3 separate regions of the Homo sapiens genome follow, and regions 1 and 3 are each linked to region 2. Evidence: promoter capture Hi-C in human tissues and cell types (Jung and others, 2019). All regions are on one chromosome and are shown on one strand. The core of a region is centred on a gene start or on the middle of the fragment in contact, and the rest is flanking DNA. Distances in the headings are between cores, read along the strand shown. Region 1 holds the start of DOCK6 (dedicator of cytokinesis 6). Region 2 holds the start of KANK2 (KN motif and ankyrin repeat domains 2). Region 3 overlaps TSPAN16 (tetraspanin 16).

Region 1 (2,700 bases), core at 44-2,543, 65 kb before region 2:
GGGGAGTGTCGGCTGGAGAATTCTCTAAAAATGCTGCAGCAGTGCTGGGAGAGAGGCCAGTGGGGAGAGATTTGAGACCATAGATTAACCAAGACATCCCCACCTCTTCCTCTTGGTAGAGGCGGCCCCGAAAGTCTAGACTCCCAAACTGGCTCACTCAGGTCCCACCACCTGGACCTGGGGCACATCTCCGAGCACTCCAGTGCCTAGCCAGGCTCCTCTGACTCCCATGCTGTAGACTGGGAGCACGGACAATGCAGGCGCTGGAGACCCCTGTGAGTCACACTGAGCAAGCACCCGAACACCTCTGTGCCTCAGTTTACTCATCTGTAAAAGGAGGAAAACAATAATTTCTTCTGCATGTGTGAATTGCAGGGCCAGGCTCAATGACATCTTAGCAATTAGACTTTTTGAGACAGGGTCTCGCTCTGTCACCCAGGCTGGATTGAAATGGCACAATCACAGCTCACTGCAGCCTTGACCTCCCAGGCTCAAGCGATCCTCCTCCCTCAGACTCCCAAGTAGCTGAGATTACAGGCACACACCACCATGCCTGGTTAATTTTTGCATTTTTTGTGGACACGGGGTCTCATTATGTTGCCCAGGCTGGTCTCCAACTCCTGGGCTCAAACAATCCTCCTGCCTTGGCCCCCCACAGTGCTGGGATTACAGGCATGAGCCACCATGCACGGCCACGATTATACTTACAGGTATGATTATTAGATACATGAACATCGTTATTGTTTTCCAGCCAGGAGTCAGAGGGCAGAAAGAGCGCCCCCCAAACCCCGGAAATCTGGGGCCTACCCAGCCTGGGTCCCAGCGCCTCCCCTCCCTCCCTCCCTCCTGAGCTTCAGTTTCCCCAGCCCTGCTCCTGGGGTGGTAAGACCACCCCACTAAACCCCGGGAGCCTGGGGTCCACCTAGCCCGGGTCTCAGCGCCTCCCTTCCCTCCCTCCCTCCTCAGGCTCAGTTTCTCCAGCCCAGCTCCCAGGGTGGAAAGAGCGCCCCCGCCAGCTCGGGAGTCTGGGGCACCCCCAGTCTGGGTCCCAGCGCCTCCTCTCCCTAACTTCCCTCCTCAGCCTCAGTTTCCCCAGCCCTTCTCCTAGGGTAGAAAGAGCGTCCCCCCAGCCCGGGAGTCTGGGGCCCGCCCAGCCTGGATCCCGGGGCCTCCTCTCCGTCCCCAGCCTCAGTTTCCCCAGCCCCCAGGACTCCAGGCGACCCCTCCGGCCTGCAGGGGCAGCACGGAGCGGCCCGGGCCACCCGGAAGGGCCCCGCCCCCGCGCCGGCCCCGCCCCGCCCCGGCTGCCCAGAACCGGGAGGCGGCGGCGGCGGCGGGGCCGGGGCCCGGGGCGGCGGCGGCGGGACGCGAGGACCATGGCTGCCTCCGAGCGCCGCGCCTTCGCGCACAAGATCAACAGGTAGTGTGGCCGCGGGGCCCCCTCCCACCTCCCCCACGTGGCCCGGCTCCGCCCCGGGGCGGTGCGACCCTCCCCGCCCGGGCGCCCCCAATTCAACCCCTTTCCGCCTCGGCCCGGGTCCCGCCAGCTTCCTCCGGCCGGGGCTGGGAGCGGGAGAAGGCGGGGAGGGCCGCGGGGGTCCCGGCGGGGGTCCCAGATGGGAGTCGCGTCGGGGCTGGGAGCGCGATGGCGGCTGCCGTTCTGCCTCCGTGACGCGCGGGGGTGTGTCCGGAGGGCTTCCCGGAGGAGGTGGCGTGGGGATGCGGATGACGGGCGCCCCCTGAACTCCCTGCGCTCCCCGTCCGCCTCTCGGCCCCTCACTGTCCCCGCGCTCTCGGAGATCGGGGTGGGCCGGACTTTCTGTTCCTTCCTCAGTGCCTGGTTTGGGGCAGGGAGGCTCCAGGCTCTGAGATTTGGGGACAGAGATGGGCTCCTTGGTGGCGTTTGAAACCCCTCGAGGAGTTTCCCGTGCCCTTCCCCCTCCAGGGTCCAGTGCCCAGCTGTCGGGGGGGGGGAAGGGGGACAGCTGTGGACGCCCCCCCACCTTCTGCTTCAGGCTCTCCCGTCACGGGCTGGACCGCGCTGGGGATGGATGGGTGATTGAATGGAGGGAGTGGGGGCTGGGGACAGAACCAGCTGGTGGGCAGACGGGGGAGGGGACAGGCCCCAGGCGCTGGGGGATCCATTTCCGTGGCCACTGGGGATTGTGAGAGTCACAGCCTGGGAGGGGTATATCAGACTCTCTGGGGCTGAAAAGCCTCGCCCCCAGTTGGCGGGGGGTCTTTGCGACAAGGGTGCGTTCAGAAGCTCAGGTATCCTCTCCCCGGGGGACCTGTCCTGACTGCCCCCAGGTGAAAGAGCTGCCCTGTGGGTTGGGCCCTGGTCTTATGGAGACAAAAGATCCCCCTCTTGGGATATAGTGGCGGAGAGAGACCAGAAGCCTGATCGAGTAGATTACCTGTCAGTGACAAGTGCTGTAGGGACAAGAAGACAGGGAAGGGGGATGGGAGGGTGGGGGCTGCTTGAGATGCGGGAGGTGGGTCAGGAAGGCCTGGATGAGCAGGTGCCTTTGAGCAAAAACCTCAAGGAGATGAGAGAGGGATCGATCGAGGCCAGTTTGTGGGGGGAAAGAGTGGGAAGGGTTTGTGCAAAGGCCCTGAGGCAGGAACAGAGAGCTGGAGGGGGACAGTAAGAGTAGAATGTACAGGGTCGTGTGGGCTGTGCAAGGGACTTTGACTTTG
Region 2 (2,700 bases), core at 137-2,636:
GGCACATGCCACTGTGCCTGGCTTTTTTTTCTTTTTCTTTTTTTTTTTTTTAGACAGAGTTTCACTCTGTCACCCAGGCTGCAGTGCAGTGGTGCAATCTCGGCTCACGGCAACCTCCACCTCCCAGATTCAAGTTATTCTCATACCTCAGCCTCCCGAGTAGCTGGGATTACAGATGTGCACCACCATGCCAGGATAGTTTTTGTATTTTTAGTAGAGAAGGGGTTTCACCATGTTGGCCAGGCTGGTCTTGAACTCCTGACCTCAGATGATCCACCCACCTCGGACTCCCAAAGTGCTGGGATTACAGGCATGAGCCATTTCTCGGCCCCAGGTGGTTTTTTGTATTTTGTTTTTTGTAGAGATGGCGTCTTACCATATTGCCAAAGCTGGTCTCCAACTCCTTGGCTCAAATAATCCGCCCACCTTGGCCTCCCAAAGTGCTACGATTACAGGCATGAGCCACTGCGCCTGGCCTAATTTTTTTTCACTTAAAAATTTTTTTGCATAGACAGGGTCTTGCTATGTTGCCCAGGCTGGTCTCGAACTCCTGAGTTCAAGCAGTCCTCTTGCCTTGGCCTCCCTAAGCACTGAGATTACAGGTGTGAGCCACCTCGCCGGCTTAATAATATTTATTAAGCCCTTGCTGAGTGGCTGGCTGTGTACTAAAAGGGCTCCCAGAAAGATCTCTGCAAAAGTAGGCCACTCCATTTATGAGAGTTTTTAACCCGAAGGGCCTCCTTCCTGATGGTTAGGCCCCTTCCTAATGGTCAGTGAATCTTCTCAACGCTCCTATCAGGTAGCTAACATGATCATCTCCATTTTACAGATGAATAAACTGAGGCACAGAGCAGCAAAAGTTTGGTGGGTCTGGGATGGGAATGCAGGTCTGGCTGGCGCCGGCGCCCAGGACTCTGCAGCCTCCCTTCTCGCGCGGCGGTCACGCCACCGTGTGCCAGGACTGCGCTGGGCCGCTTCCAGCCCTGGGCCGCCTGGGGGAGGGGTGACCTCCCGCTGCCGCGCCCGCCCCGCGCGCCCTCCCCGAGCTGGGCCCCGGCCAGCTCCACCCCCTCCCGCCGCCGAGCCGTTCCGCCCCCCGCAGCGGCCCAGGGACAGCAGGCGGTGGGGGGGAGGCCGGCAGTGGGAGGACCCTGCCTCGGGGACTTAGGGAGGAAGGAAGGACGAGGCCGGACACCCCGGCGCGCACACACACCTGCTGTCCAGGTGAGATCCAGTCTCCAACCAGCGTCTCTCCATCCCCACCCCCCACCGCGGCCGGGGCGCCCGGGCGGCTGGAGGGGGCGGTGCCGGCTGGGGGGGCGGGACCAGCCGGAGGGGGCGTGGTGCGGGCGGAGCCACCTCCGAGGGCCGGGCGCCCAGGCTGCGGCGCGCGCGAAGACGCTCGGGCGGCGGGACCCAGGGAAGGCAGCGGCCGGAGCGCGCAAGGCGAGTGGGACCCGGGGCTGGGTAGGGGTTCAAGTCTGGTTCGGGGATCGAGTGTGCACCCCCTCCACACACACCTACTACCCTACCCCCCGCCTCCAACCCTGGGACACGACCTCGCTGGTCTCAACGAGCCGCTGCCTCCAACTCCACCTTCTGTGCCCAAACTTTCCAGACTTGGAGTGTCTGTCCCCGCGTCCCTGCCCCCTCCTCGTCTTTGACCCCATACCCCCATCGATTCCTCCCAGTACCCCCCATCGATTCCTCGTGCCCTGCCCGTTTCTCCTGTCTTGGCTCCCCTCTGCCCGCTCTCCCCTGTCTCTGTCCCACTTTCTGCCTCTGTTCCTCCCCGGCTCTGCCCTCTCCCCGCACTGTCCCCCCTCGCCCTCCTCCGCGGCCATGCCCCAGACGGCGGGAAGGCGGCCGGGCGTCCGGCCGGGCTGGGCCTGGGCTTGGCGGCTGGGCCGGCGTGGGGAGCGGCAGCTGTTTGCCATTAGCCCGGGATCCCACAGGCCCCGCCCCCTCTCTGCACGGGGCGGGGTCCTTCTCGCCTCCCCCCACCCCGAGTTTGGGGCGGGAAGACCCCCCCCCACCACCACCACCGACCTCCGCGATGTGCAGGCCGGTCTTGGGTGGTGGGTTGGGGAGACCCGCGCCCCTTCCCTGCGCTCCCTACCTGTCCCCTCTTATAGGCTCCAGTCTCTCCATCTCTGTCTTATCCTGTCACCCCTTCCCCATTCCCCAGGGGTCCCATGGCGAGAGAAGGGTCTCAGCCACAGACATCCATCTCCCCCACCACACCCCCTCGTCTCCTTTCTCTTCCCCTTACTCGGGACGTGCTGGTCCTCATCGAGGGCGGTGAGATGACTGAGTACCCTCAGACCTCAGTCTCCGTATCTGGGAAACGGGTAGAGATATCTGATGTGGAGTCTGAGGGTGGTGGCTTGGTGGGCAGTGGGGGGATCCACCAGGCTTAGGTTCATGTTCAGGCCCAGCCACTTCCCCATGGCCCCAGTGACCCCGAGGAAGCCACTGTACCTTTCTGTACCCTCTGCATCCCCTGTCTGTGAAACGGGGCGATAAGTGCCCATCTCATAGAATTGTCATGACAATTAAAAGAGTTGATGTTAGGCTGGGTGCAGTGGCTCATGCCTGTAATCCCAGCACTTTGGGAGGCCAAGGCGGGCGGATCACCTGAGGTCAGGAGTTCGAGACCAGCCTGACCAACATGGAGAAACACCATCTCTACTAAAAATA
Region 3 (2,700 bases), core at 183-2,682, 110 kb before region 2:
AGGAAATGCTCTGTACCTCAGTTTCCTTATCTGCAAAATGAGAGAAGAGTAGTTCCCCACCTCAAGGGATAGGATGGGACAAAACTCACAAAGTGAGTGCTCCATCACGTGGCTGGCCCTCACTCCCGCTAGGATGATCACTTTTCATGGTTATTGCTCCATTTAGGGTCTCTAGAAGGCAGGTAGTGTGGTGCCGGCAATGGACTCAGGCCAATGGGGCTTCAAATTCCAACTCTGCCAAAGCTCTGTGATCTTGAACTAGTGATGTCCCCTCCCCGAGCCTCAGTTTCTGAGAGAAGGTAACCGTAAGTCCCTGCTCTGTGTTGTCAAAATAAGCTGAACACTCAATAAGAGTTGATTTCTTTCTCCCTGACCCCCTTTGCAGGGGTCCCCCAAAAGAAGCAATTTTTATTAAAGTTACCAGGCTGGGTGTGGTGGTTCATGCCTGTAATCCCAGCATTTTGAGAGGCTGAGGCAGGAGGATTGCTTGAGGCCAGGAGTTCGAGACCAGCCTGGGCAACATACTAAGGCCTCATCTCTATTAAAAATAAAAATTAAAAAAAAATTAGCCAGGCATGGTGGCACGTGCCTGTGGTCCCAGCTACTCGGGAGGCTGAGGCAGGAGGATCACTTGAGCCCAGGAGTTTGAGGCTGCAGTGAGCCGTGATTGCACCATTGCACTCCTGCCTGGGCAACAGAGTGAGACCCTATCTCTAAAAAAATAAAAATAAGGCCGGGTGTGGTGGCTCATGCCTGTAATCCCAGCACTTTGGGAGGCCGAGGTGGGAGGATCACTTGAGCTCAGGAGTTTGAGACCAGCCTGGCCAACATGAGGAAACCCCATCTCTAGTAAAAATACAAAAATCAGCCGGGCGTGGTGGCACACACCTGTAATCCCAGCTACTCGGGAGGCTGAGGCAGGAGAATCACTTGAACCCAGGAGGCGGAGGTTGCAGTGAGCCAAGATGGCACCATTGCACTCCAGCCTGGGAGACACAGTGAAACTCCATCTCAAAATAACTAACTAAATAAATAAATAAAAAGGCTGGGTACAGTAGCTCATGCCTGTAATCCCAGCACTTTGGGAGGCCAAGGTGGGTGGATCACCTGAGGTTCGAGACCAGCCTGGCCAACATGGTGAAACCCCATCTCTACTAAAAATACAAAATTAGCCGGGTGTGGCGGTGCATGCCTGTGATCCCAGCTACTTGGGAGGCTGGGGCGGGAGAATCACTTGAACCTGGGAGGCGGAGGTTGCAGTGAGCCGAGATCGCACCACTGCACTCCAGCCTGGGTGACAAGGGTGAAACTCTTTCTCAAAATAAGATAAAAATAAAAATGAAGTCACCAGCCCTCAGGGGTCTGTCAAGGCAACACACAAAATCTCCAGTTACCTTCTGGTGGATGACGTTTGGAGACACATCGCGTCCGTCACAGGACACACTTCCGATGGATTTACAGCAACTCCTGGGGTAGGTGTGGCCCGTTGTCATTTCGAAGGAAGAGCCAGAAAAATCTGTGTAGTTATTCACCCCACAGCACTTTAGCTATAGAGAGGAGAAGAAATACTTGGAGAGTCCCTTTCAAATAATAAAAACATCAGAAATCACGGTTACCATGGCTACCGTCTAGTATGGTCACAATATCCCAGAGACTGTGCTAAACATCCTCTTACAAACATCCCATCACAGCCCAGAACCCTCCCTGGCTCCCATCTCACTCAGGGTAAAAGCTGAACTCCTAGCCTGGGCAACAGGGTGAGACCCCATCTCGGCAAAAAAATTTAAAAATTAGCCAGGCATGGTGGCAGATGCCGGTATTCCCAGCTACTCAGGAGGCTCAGGCTAGAGGATCTCTTGAGCCCGGGAGATCAAGGCTGCAGTGAGCTATGACCTCACCACTACATTCCACCCTGGGCAACAGAGCAAGACCTGTCTCTAAAAAGAAAAAAAAGCTGAACTCCTCAGTGATTCTCCTGCCTCAGTCTCCCGAGTAGCTGGGATTTCAGGCACACGCCCCCACGCCTGGCTAATTTTTGTATTTTTAGTAGAGACAGGTTTATGCCACGTTGGCCAGGCTGGTCTCGAATTCCTGACCTCAAGTGATCCACCCTCCTTGTCCTCCCAAAGTGCTGGGATTAGCGGCGTGAGCCACCGTGCCCGGCCCTGCCTTGTTTTTATTCACAGCAGTTATGAACCTGATACCAATGTTTAGTTATTGGTTTCTTGCCCATCTCTCCACTCACATGTCAGTAACGGAAGAACCAGAGATTGCCCATCTCTTCATTCACATGTCAGTAATGGAAGAATGAATTTGAAGTGCAGTGCTGAGATCGTAGCTTACTGCAACCTCAATCTTCTGGGCTCAAGCGATTCTCCCTCCTCTGCCTCCTGAGTAGCTGGGACTACAGGTGCAGGCCATCACGCCTGGCTACATTTTTTATCTATTGTAGAGATGGGTCTTGCTATGTTGCCTGGGCTGGTCTCAAACTCTTAGCCTCAAGCGATCCACCCATCTCAGCCTCCCAAAGTGCTAGGATTACAGATGTGAGCCACTGCACCTGGCCCAACAAGGATTTTATTTTTATTTTTATTTTTATTTTTATTTTTATTATTTTTTTTGAGACACAGTCTCTGTCTGTTGCCCAGGTTGGAGTGCAATGGCGCGATCTTGGCTCTCTGCAACTTCCACCTCCTGGGT

Evidence for each region. Contacts are between HindIII fragments. The study calls those that stand out against the background at their distance.
Region 1: the fragment with the promoter of DOCK6 here is called in contact with the fragment with the promoter of KANK2 in region 2 in 6 of the 25 tissues and cell types used here (aorta, dorsolateral prefrontal cortex, lymphoblastoid cells and 3 more).
Region 3: a contact is called between a fragment that was not itself captured here and the fragment with the promoter of KANK2 in region 2, in 2 of the 25 tissues and cell types used here (dorsolateral prefrontal cortex and lymphoblastoid cells).

What each region holds. Positions count from the first base shown.
Region 1 is chr19:11,261,117-11,263,816 of GRCh38, reverse strand. DOCK6 (dedicator of cytokinesis 6) reads left to right here and starts at 1,293. Exons shown (of 48, transcript NM_020812.4): 1 at 1,293-1,420. The coding sequence starts at 1,377. RefSeq lists silencers at 1,209-1,368, 1,439-1,498, 1,579-1,718. The HindIII fragment of the contact is 27,433 bases long and covers 1-2,700 here.
Region 2 is chr19:11,196,231-11,198,930 of GRCh38, reverse strand. KANK2 (KN motif and ankyrin repeat domains 2) reads left to right here and starts at 1,386. Exons shown (of 13, transcript NM_001136191.3): 1 at 1,386-1,446. RefSeq lists a silencer at 903-1,522. The HindIII fragment of the contact is 26,033 bases long and covers 1-2,700 here.
Region 3 is chr19:11,305,451-11,308,150 of GRCh38, reverse strand. It overlaps TSPAN16 (tetraspanin 16), which reads right to left. Exons shown (of 7, transcript NM_001282509.2): 5 at 1,395-1,547. The region is part of intron 1 of TSPAN16-AS1 (TSPAN16 antisense RNA 1); the gene reads left to right. Among named protein-coding and RNA genes, the nearest start is that of TSPAN16, 11 kb to the right of the region's middle. The HindIII fragment of the contact is 9,661 bases long and covers 1-2,700 here.